Regions from separate parts of the Homo sapiens genome. Here regions 1 and 2 are each linked to region 3. Evidence: promoter capture Hi-C in human tissues and cell types (Jung and others, 2019). All regions are on one chromosome and are shown on one strand. Each heading gives the region's core, a stretch centred on a gene start or on the middle of the fragment in contact. The rest is flanking DNA. Distances are from core to core; before and after follow the strand shown.

Region 1 (2,700 bases), core at 173-2,672, 780 kb before region 3:
AAATAATAAAGGCCAGGCACGGTGGCTCACGCCTGTAATCCCAGCACTTTGGGAGGCCAAAGCAGGGGATCACCTGAGGTCAGGAGTTCAAGACCAGCCTGGCCAACATGGTGAAATCCTGTCGCTACTAAAAATATAAAAAAATAGCTGGGCATGGTGGTGCATGCCTGTAATCCCAGCTACTTGGGAGGCTGAGGCAGAAGAATCGCTTGAACCTGGGAGCCAGAGGTTGCAGTGAGCAGAGATCGCACCATTGAACTCCAGCCTGGGCAACACAGTGAGACCATGTCTCAAAAAAAAAAAAAAAAAAAAAAAAAAAGCAAGGTCTTCTGCAGCTACTCTAGGAGCCCATCCCCACTCTAAGTCTCCTCCATGGAACTATCCTGTGGGCCCAGAGGGAGAAGTACGAAATTATATCTTTTCAGCAGAAAATGACAAGTGGAGATAATTCTCCCATGTATAAGCTTCTCCAAAATTACATTCCTTCTTCAGGTAGAAATGTGAAGTATATTGCTGATCATTTTAAAAACATTCATTTGTAATACGAGGTATGACCACTATTAAGTGCCAATGCCTTATATACCCCATCTCTAAAGTCTCCTCCCACTCCACTCCCATTTTACAGACAAAACCCTAGCTCAACGTGATGTTACTTGCCCCCCCATTGAACAGTAATTTGATTGCTGTTAATATTTTTTTTTAAGCCAGTAAGAGATAAACTGTAGGTTAATGATACAACACTGGGTTTTTTCCCTTTATCAGGTTTTTCTATATTAACACATGACAACAGAAAAAATTCAAGACAGTTAACAAGCATGTAGGCACAAGTCATTTTCTAAATACATCTGCTGATCTTGGTTCAACTATTTTTGTCCATTTAGCATACTTTTGGAAGACTACACGATGCAGCAAGCCCTACTCCAAGAAAGGGATAGAGAACTGGAAAAAAAATAAATGAACAAAAAAGGCCTCTAACCTCTGAGAGCTTGTGGGGAGACTACAACTGCAATATACTGTAACCATAACCACTGTACTGAAATGTGGCAAGTGTTACCCTCAAGGAAGTACAAAGTGGCATGGTTTGAAAACTCCAGCTATCTTCCCAAAAGCAACAGATAATCTCTCACATTTGCCTCCTTACAATGGTTCTGGCTTCAATTCCGCTGATATTCTATAAATGACAAATACCAATTCTTATGCCTGGGCAAAAGGTCCCCAGTGTTCTTCTATACAAATCACTCAGTAAGTATGACAGAAGTTTGCCAGCTCAAGTCAGCACAAAGCTCCTTCTCCAAAAATAACCCTGTAATTTTTAGAAATTCTAGCAATGAAAATAAAGTATCTTTAACTTTTTTGTCAAATCATGGATATACAGAGTTAAAAGTGACTTAGGGATCATTTTGAACATAAAATCTTGAAAAGTAGCCATATTACAGTGGTTCACTTCTGTAATCCCAGTGGTTTGGGAGGCAAAGCAGAAGGAGTGTTTGAGCCCTAAAGTCCGAGACCAGCCTGGGCAATCTGGCAAAACCCCATCTCTACAAAAAATACAAAAATTAGCCAGCCATGGTGGCACATACCTGTAGTCCCAGCTACTCAGGAGGCTGAGGCAGGAAGACCACTTTAGCCTGGAAGGTCAAGGCTGCAGTAAGCCATGGTTTGTGTCACTGCACTCTAGCCTAGGTGACAGAATGAGTCCGTGTCTCAATCAATCAATCTTTTTTTTTTTTTTTTTTTGAGACAAAGTGTCCCTCTGTCGCCCCAGGCTGGAGTGCAGTGGCGTGATCTCAGCTCAATGCAACCTCCACCTCCCAGGTTCAAGAGATTCTCCTGCCTCAGCCTCCTGAGTAGCTGGGACTACAGGAGCGCACCACCACGCCCAGCTAATTTTTGTGTTTTTAGTAGAGACAGGGTTTCACCATGTTGGTCAGGCTGGTCTTGAACTCCTGACCTCGTGATCCGCCTGCCTCAGCCTCCCAAAGTGCTGAGATTACAGGCTTAAGCCACTGCGCCCTGCCCAATCAATCAATATCTTAAAAAGTTAGATTCACAGCCAGGCGTGGTAGCTCACGCCTATAATCCCAGGACTTTGCGAGGCCGAGGTGGGTGGATCACAAGGTCAAGAGATCGAGACCATCCTGGCCAACATGATGAAATGCCGTCTCTACCGAAAATACAAAAATTTGCTGGGCGTGGTGGCGCCAGCCTGTAATCCCAGCTACTCGGGAGGCTAAGGCAGGAGAATCGCTTAAACCCGGGAGGCGGAGGTTGCAGGGAGCAGAGATCGTGCAACTGCACTCCAGCCTGGTGATAGAGCGAGATTCCATCTCAAAAAAAAAAAGTTAGATTCACTTGTCCATTGTTATAAGACTCACTAAGGGCATCTCTAGACATAAACCCAGGGCTCTTAACTCACTGTATAGGGTTTCTTTGCACTGCTGCTGCTTTAAATCCAGTAACAATAAATTTAATGAAGTCCAAGTTTTCTCATTTAATCAATCATAGATACATCCATGAGTAAATAATCATAGCAGTTTAAAAACGAACTTCATCAAAAACGAGCACACTAAGCACCCACCATGAGGTGCATACAGTAGGTAAAGAACTGCCTATCTTTGATATGGCAGAAGCTCTTAGGCATTGGAGGGAACTGTCAATACCCACTGAAAAATTGTCAGCATTATCATCATCATCTTGACA
Region 2 (2,700 bases), core at 5-2,504, 640 kb before region 3:
GAAATCCCAGCTACTTGGAAGGCTGAGGCAGGAGAATCGCTTGAACCCGGGGGGCAGAGGTTGCGGCGAGGCAAGATCACGCCACTGCACTCCAGCCTGCGCCAAAAGAGCAAAATTCTGTCTCAAAAAAAAAAAAAAAGAAACTGAGGCTCAGAGAGGATGACAAGATCACACCATCAGTAAGAGGCAAAGCCAGGATTCTTCTTTTTTTTTTGAGACAGAATCTCACTCTGTCACCCAGCCTGAACTGCAGTGTTGCGGTCTCTGCTAACTCTACTCCGCTAACTTTACCTCCTCTTCCCGGGTTCAAGCGATTCTCCTGCTTCAGCCTCCCAAGTAGCTGGGATTAAAGGTGTGTGCCAACATGCCCGGCTAATTTTTGTAGTTTTAGTAGAGATGGAGTTTTGCCATATTGGCCAGGCTGGTCTCAAACCCCTGACCTCAAGTGATCCACCTGCCTCAGCCTCCCAAAGTGCTGGGATTACAGGCGTGAGCCACCGTGCCCGGCCAAAAGCCAGGATTCTAATGTGGGTGGTTTTCTGGCTTCCCAGCACTTGACCACGATGTCACCGGCAGCCCCGTGCCTCCTGGTTTGCCACTGACATTAACCCAGTTGCCTGCCCAATCTGAAAAACTTGGCAAAGCATAAACCTAAAATTGTCCAAGGGGCGGGAGGACAGCAGGAAATCGTGGTGATCTGTGAAGAGAAAGGCCACACTGTCCAAAGCCTGAGAAACAGCTGCTAAGATTAGTTTTGAGTCAGCCTACCCTGTGACTTGGAACCTGCTCAATTTCTTTTCCAGCTCCTGACTCAGGCAGGCCCACTTCAACTCAGGGGACTGCTCAGCAGTGTCTGCCTAGCGTTTTAGGCATCCTGGGGACACGCTCCTTGCTTGACATTGAACTGTGCAGGACGTGGGGATGCTCTGGGCTGTCCGGGAGGCCTGTTGACACCCCACAGCATCCCCAGGCCAACAGCTGAGATGCCCACACTCCCTTTCCACATTCCCCACACAGATTGGAGAATTTTTCCTCCATTAAAGCCGTCCCTGGTACATGGTACATGGAGCAGGGTCGGAGCAGGGTCAGGACAGAGCCAACGGATTGGAAGGCAGGTGATTTGGGAGTCTCTGCTCTGGCAACACGCATGGCTCAAGTGAGAATGGGTGTTACACAGCATCTCCCAAGATCCTCATGTTACAGTTACCCATGAGAAAACAGAGGCCACAACACAAGTCACTTGCCAGGGTCAGAAGACCAGTCAGTAGCAGAACCAGGACAGAATTCCGGCCTTCTGATTCCTAATTTAGTGCTCTTCCAGCTCAAATAAAAGGCAGACCATTCTTGGAAAGACTAATCACTGGAATATTTTTTTTCACTGAGAAAATATTTTCAGAATTTCAAGGCTACAGTGAGCTGTGATTTTACCACTGCATTCTAGCCTGGGCAGCACAACAAGACCCTGTCTGAAAAATATATATATATATATATATATATTTTATTTTTTTTTTCCTCTGATTTCAATATAATTTTCATTTTATTTATTTTTTGAGATGGATTTTTTGTTTGAGATGGAGTCTTGCTCTATCGCCCAGGCTAAAGTGCAGTGGCACTGCCTCAGTTCACTGCGACCTCTGCCTCCTGGGTTCAAGCAATTCTCCTGCCTCAGCCTCCTGAGTAGCTGAGATTACAGGTACCTGCCACCACGCCCGGCTAATTTTTGTATTTTTAGTAGAGACGAGGTTTTACCATGTTGACCAGCCTGGTCTCGAACTCCTGACCTCAGGTGATCCACCCACCTTGGCCTCCCAAAGTGCTGGGATTACAGGGGTGAGCCACCATGCCCAGACTGTTTTTTGTGTTCTTAGTAGACACAGGGTTTCACCATGGTTGGCCAGGCTGGTTTTGAACTTCTGTCCTCAAGTGATCCACTCACCTCAGCCTCCCAAAGTGTTAGGATTACAGGCATGAGCCACCATGCCTAGTCTATTTATTTATTTATTATTATTTTTGAGACCGCCTCACTCTGTCACCCAGGATGGAGTGCAGTGGCGTGATCTTGGCTCACTGCAACCTCTGCCTCCCGGGTTCAAGGGATTCTTGTGCCTCAGCCTCCCAAGTAGGTGTGACTACAGGCATGCACCACCATGCCCAGCTAATTTTTTGTATTTTAGTAGAGACGGGGTTTCACCATGTTGCCCAGGATGGTCTTGAACTCCTGAGCTCAGGTGATCTGCCCACCTTGGCCTCCCAAATTGCTGGGATTATAGGCGTGAGCCACTGCGCCTGACCACATATAATTTTTATTAATTATAATGTTGAAAGTCCCTTTATTCCACACCTCTCCTCTCATTCACTCCTGATAGGTCATTTTTAATGATTTGATGTATATACTGAATTTGGATGCTTCTTGCTACAGGGCAAAGACGCTAATAAGATTTTGCTGGAGCCTTTTCACAGATGCAAGTCAATCCAGGCAGTGTCTATAGCTGCTGAACCCAAAATCAGAAAGCGAGGGCTATCAAAGCTCTTCTGTCCTGATTTGCAACTTTAGTAGTGCAAGAAAAAAAATCTTAGAATAAAAAATGGGTACCGTTCAGAGACCTTTAGAGATTGCAAGGCATCACAGATGATAAAAAGCTCCATCTCTAGACGTGTTCAGGAGTGGGTTGGGGCTTTGACCTTGACTAGCTGCATCAA
Region 3 (2,700 bases), core at 24-2,523:
CTCTGTCTCGGCCTCGAACACGGCAGGGCTGCCTGCGGCCACTTCCACTGACCGTGGCTTCTTGCTAAAAGCTGAGACTGAAGGGCCAGGTGGAGGCTACAGCGGCCCCTGGTTGGAGCGTGCACCCCGCCCCTGCAGCCCCTCTCAGTAAATACTGTGCTAGCACTTTCTATGCATCCCCTCACGTAATACTCTACCAGTTCTCTGAGGTAGTTGCAGTTATTCTGTTCATTTCTCAGAGGAGGACACTGAGGCTCAGAGAAGCTAAGCGGCTCCTCCAAGATCACACAGCTAGCAGTCGGGAGAGCCAGGGCTGTGGTCCTGACCTCCCAACAAGACTTTTTCTGCATGTGTCCACTTTCCCTGCTTGGAGACACCCGTGATGAACCCAGCTCCCTTTCCCCCAACCATTTCGGGCCCTTGGCAGGGGGCGGGGAAGTCTGCCTACTTGGAATGTGGCCAAATTTGTCCTCCAAGGACCTCAGGCTGGGTATCAGCAACTGAGATAAAGCTGGCCTGGGAGGGCGCTGGGGGATGGGGACCTGGATCTCTGCCCTGGACAACCTTCATAAGGGCACAGCCCAGGCCCAGGTCCCTGGGCTGTGATTTTCCCTGCCCTTGGCCTGGGTTCAGGGGCTCCTGACTGTCCTCTCTCAGAGAAGAGGGGCTGTGTCACCCTCAACATGGGGGCCACACCGTACAGGCTCATGAAGCAGATAATGTCACAGCCAGGAGGAACCAACCCAATGCCACCACCACCCCCGGCACCCCAGGTTGGGAGACTGAGACCCATAGTGGGTAGAGACTGGTCTGAAGGCATGCCGTGAGCCTGGCTCAGCTCCATACTAAACGTGGGCTCTGTCCGCGGGGAACCTTGCTGTGGAAGGTGAAGGCAATGGGACAGGGAAGGGGTCCCTTTGCATTCTCAGAATGGGTTGACCCCGGGTGCTTCCTGTCTTGGCTGTGTCCCCTCTCTGCGTCCCTGACCTTGGGTTTACCTTCACCTCTCATCAGAGGGATGGGAAAAAGAAACCGAGAATCAAAAAAGGACCCTGGAGGACTGGCTGCCCCTGTCCTGGGGCTCAGAGGCCACGTCCTCGTCAACCCCCTCAAGAACTCCCTCCTAGCCCTGCTCCCCAATTGTAGACACCCCCCTGCTCCCACACTTAGACCCAACCCCAGTCCTAAAGCTACCTGGCTTCTTCCCCGGCTCAGGCATCCTGAGAGACGTCACACCAGGCACGAAGCAGGCACAGGTCACCCAAAGAGGGACTGAGTGGGGTCCTGTCCTTCCCACTATATATGGGGACCTCCCCCCTCCCCAGGCTCTGCTTATCTGCCTCCTGTCCAGCCACCTGCTAAATATAGATGAATTCCAGAGAGCTGAGGTCTCTCCAGGGAGAAGGTAGGGCCACATTGTCCCTGGCTGGCTCCTGTCCCTTCCCCCCTCACCCCCCGCAGCACAATTCTGCCTCCCCAACCTTTGGCAAGCCTCAGGGGTACTCCAAGCCCCGTGTGTGTCCCTCTTACAGCAAATTGTACGGTGGGAGCATGCTGGGCCCATAACCCTAAGGCTAACGGGTCAGGAGCATCCTCGCAGGCAGTTCAGGCAGTGGTCATGTCCACAGACCCTGGGGCCAGGGTGTCTCTGAGTCCTAGCACTGCCATCTCTTTAATCTCAAAGCACCTGGTTTCCTCATCTGTAAAGCGGGGTGGGTGAAAGCAGCACCCACTGCACAGGATTGTCACACGTATGAAGTGGGTTTATAATTTTAAAAATGTTAGGCCGGGTGTGGTGGCTCATCTGTAATCCCAGCACTTTGGGAGGCCGAGGCAGGCAGATTATTTGAGGCCAGGAGTTTGAGACCAGCCTGGGCAACATGGCAAAACCCCATCTCTACTAAAAAAATAAAAAATAAAATAAATACACACACACACACAAATTAGCCAGGTGTGGTGGTGTGGACCTGTAGTATCAGCTACCCAGGAGGCTGAGGTGGGAGGATCGCTTGAGTCCAAGGAGTTCCGGGCTGCAGTGAGCCAAAATCGCACCACTGCACTGCAGCCTGGGTGACAGAGTGATAATAATAATAAAAATATTATTTATTATTATTTTTTATTATTAATATCTCAAAGAATAATAATAAAAAAATAAAAATGGGCTGGGCGAAGTGGCTCACACCTGTAATCCCAGCACTTTGGGAGGCTGAGGCGGGCAGATCACTTGAGCTCAGGAGTTCGAGACCAGCCTGGGCAACATGATGAAACCCCATCTGTACAAAAAATACAAAAATCAGTCAGGCATGTGACGCACACCTGTAGTCCCAGATGCTCGGGAGGCTGAGGCAGGAGAATCACTTGAGCCCGGGGGGTCAGGGCTGCAGTGAGCCATGTTCGTGCCACTGCACTCCAGCCTGGGCAACAAAGTAAGACCCTGTCTCAAAAAAAAAAAAATAAAAATAGAAGAATGAAGACACAACACCATTTTGCCTTCTCTTGTGGCCCTGCAGTAGGACTAGGGAGCTGCAGGGTTGGGCTGCAGTGAGCCCTCTGGGGTTGAGGAGGTGTGGGGCGGGTATTTGTCCCTACGATAATGGCCCCAGAATCTGGGTTCCCTAAGGTCTTTGACAGCGTTGGGAAGTCCCTCACTCCCAGGCTGTCTACTGCCACTACTTGCTACCGTCTGGAGGAAAACACAGG

What was found. Contacts are between HindIII fragments. The study calls those that stand out against the background at their distance.
Region 1: a fragment that was not itself captured here is called in contact with the fragment with the promoter of MYBPC3 in region 3 in 1 of the 25 tissues and cell types used here (pancreas).
Region 2: a contact is called between a fragment that was not itself captured here and the fragment with the promoter of MYBPC3 in region 3, in 1 of the 25 tissues and cell types used here (aorta).

What each region holds. Positions count from the first base shown.
Region 1 is chr11:46,569,970-46,572,669 of GRCh38, forward strand. The region is part of intron 1 of AMBRA1 (autophagy and beclin 1 regulator 1); the gene reads right to left. Among named protein-coding and RNA genes, the nearest start is that of AMBRA1, 23 kb to the right of the region's middle. RefSeq lists an enhancer at 929-1,058. The HindIII fragment of the contact is 5,695 bases long and covers 1-2,700 here.
Region 2 is chr11:46,710,322-46,713,021 of GRCh38, forward strand. No RefSeq gene overlaps it. Among named protein-coding and RNA genes, the nearest start is that of F2, 7.5 kb to the right of the region's middle. The HindIII fragment of the contact is 6,245 bases long and covers 1-2,700 here.
Region 3 is chr11:47,351,429-47,354,128 of GRCh38, forward strand. It overlaps MYBPC3 (myosin binding protein C3), which reads right to left and starts at 1,274. Exons shown (of 35, transcript NM_000256.3): 1 at 1,195-1,274; 2 at 1-77. The coding sequence starts at 1,219. RefSeq lists an enhancer at 1-898. The HindIII fragment of the contact is 22,693 bases long and covers 1-2,700 here.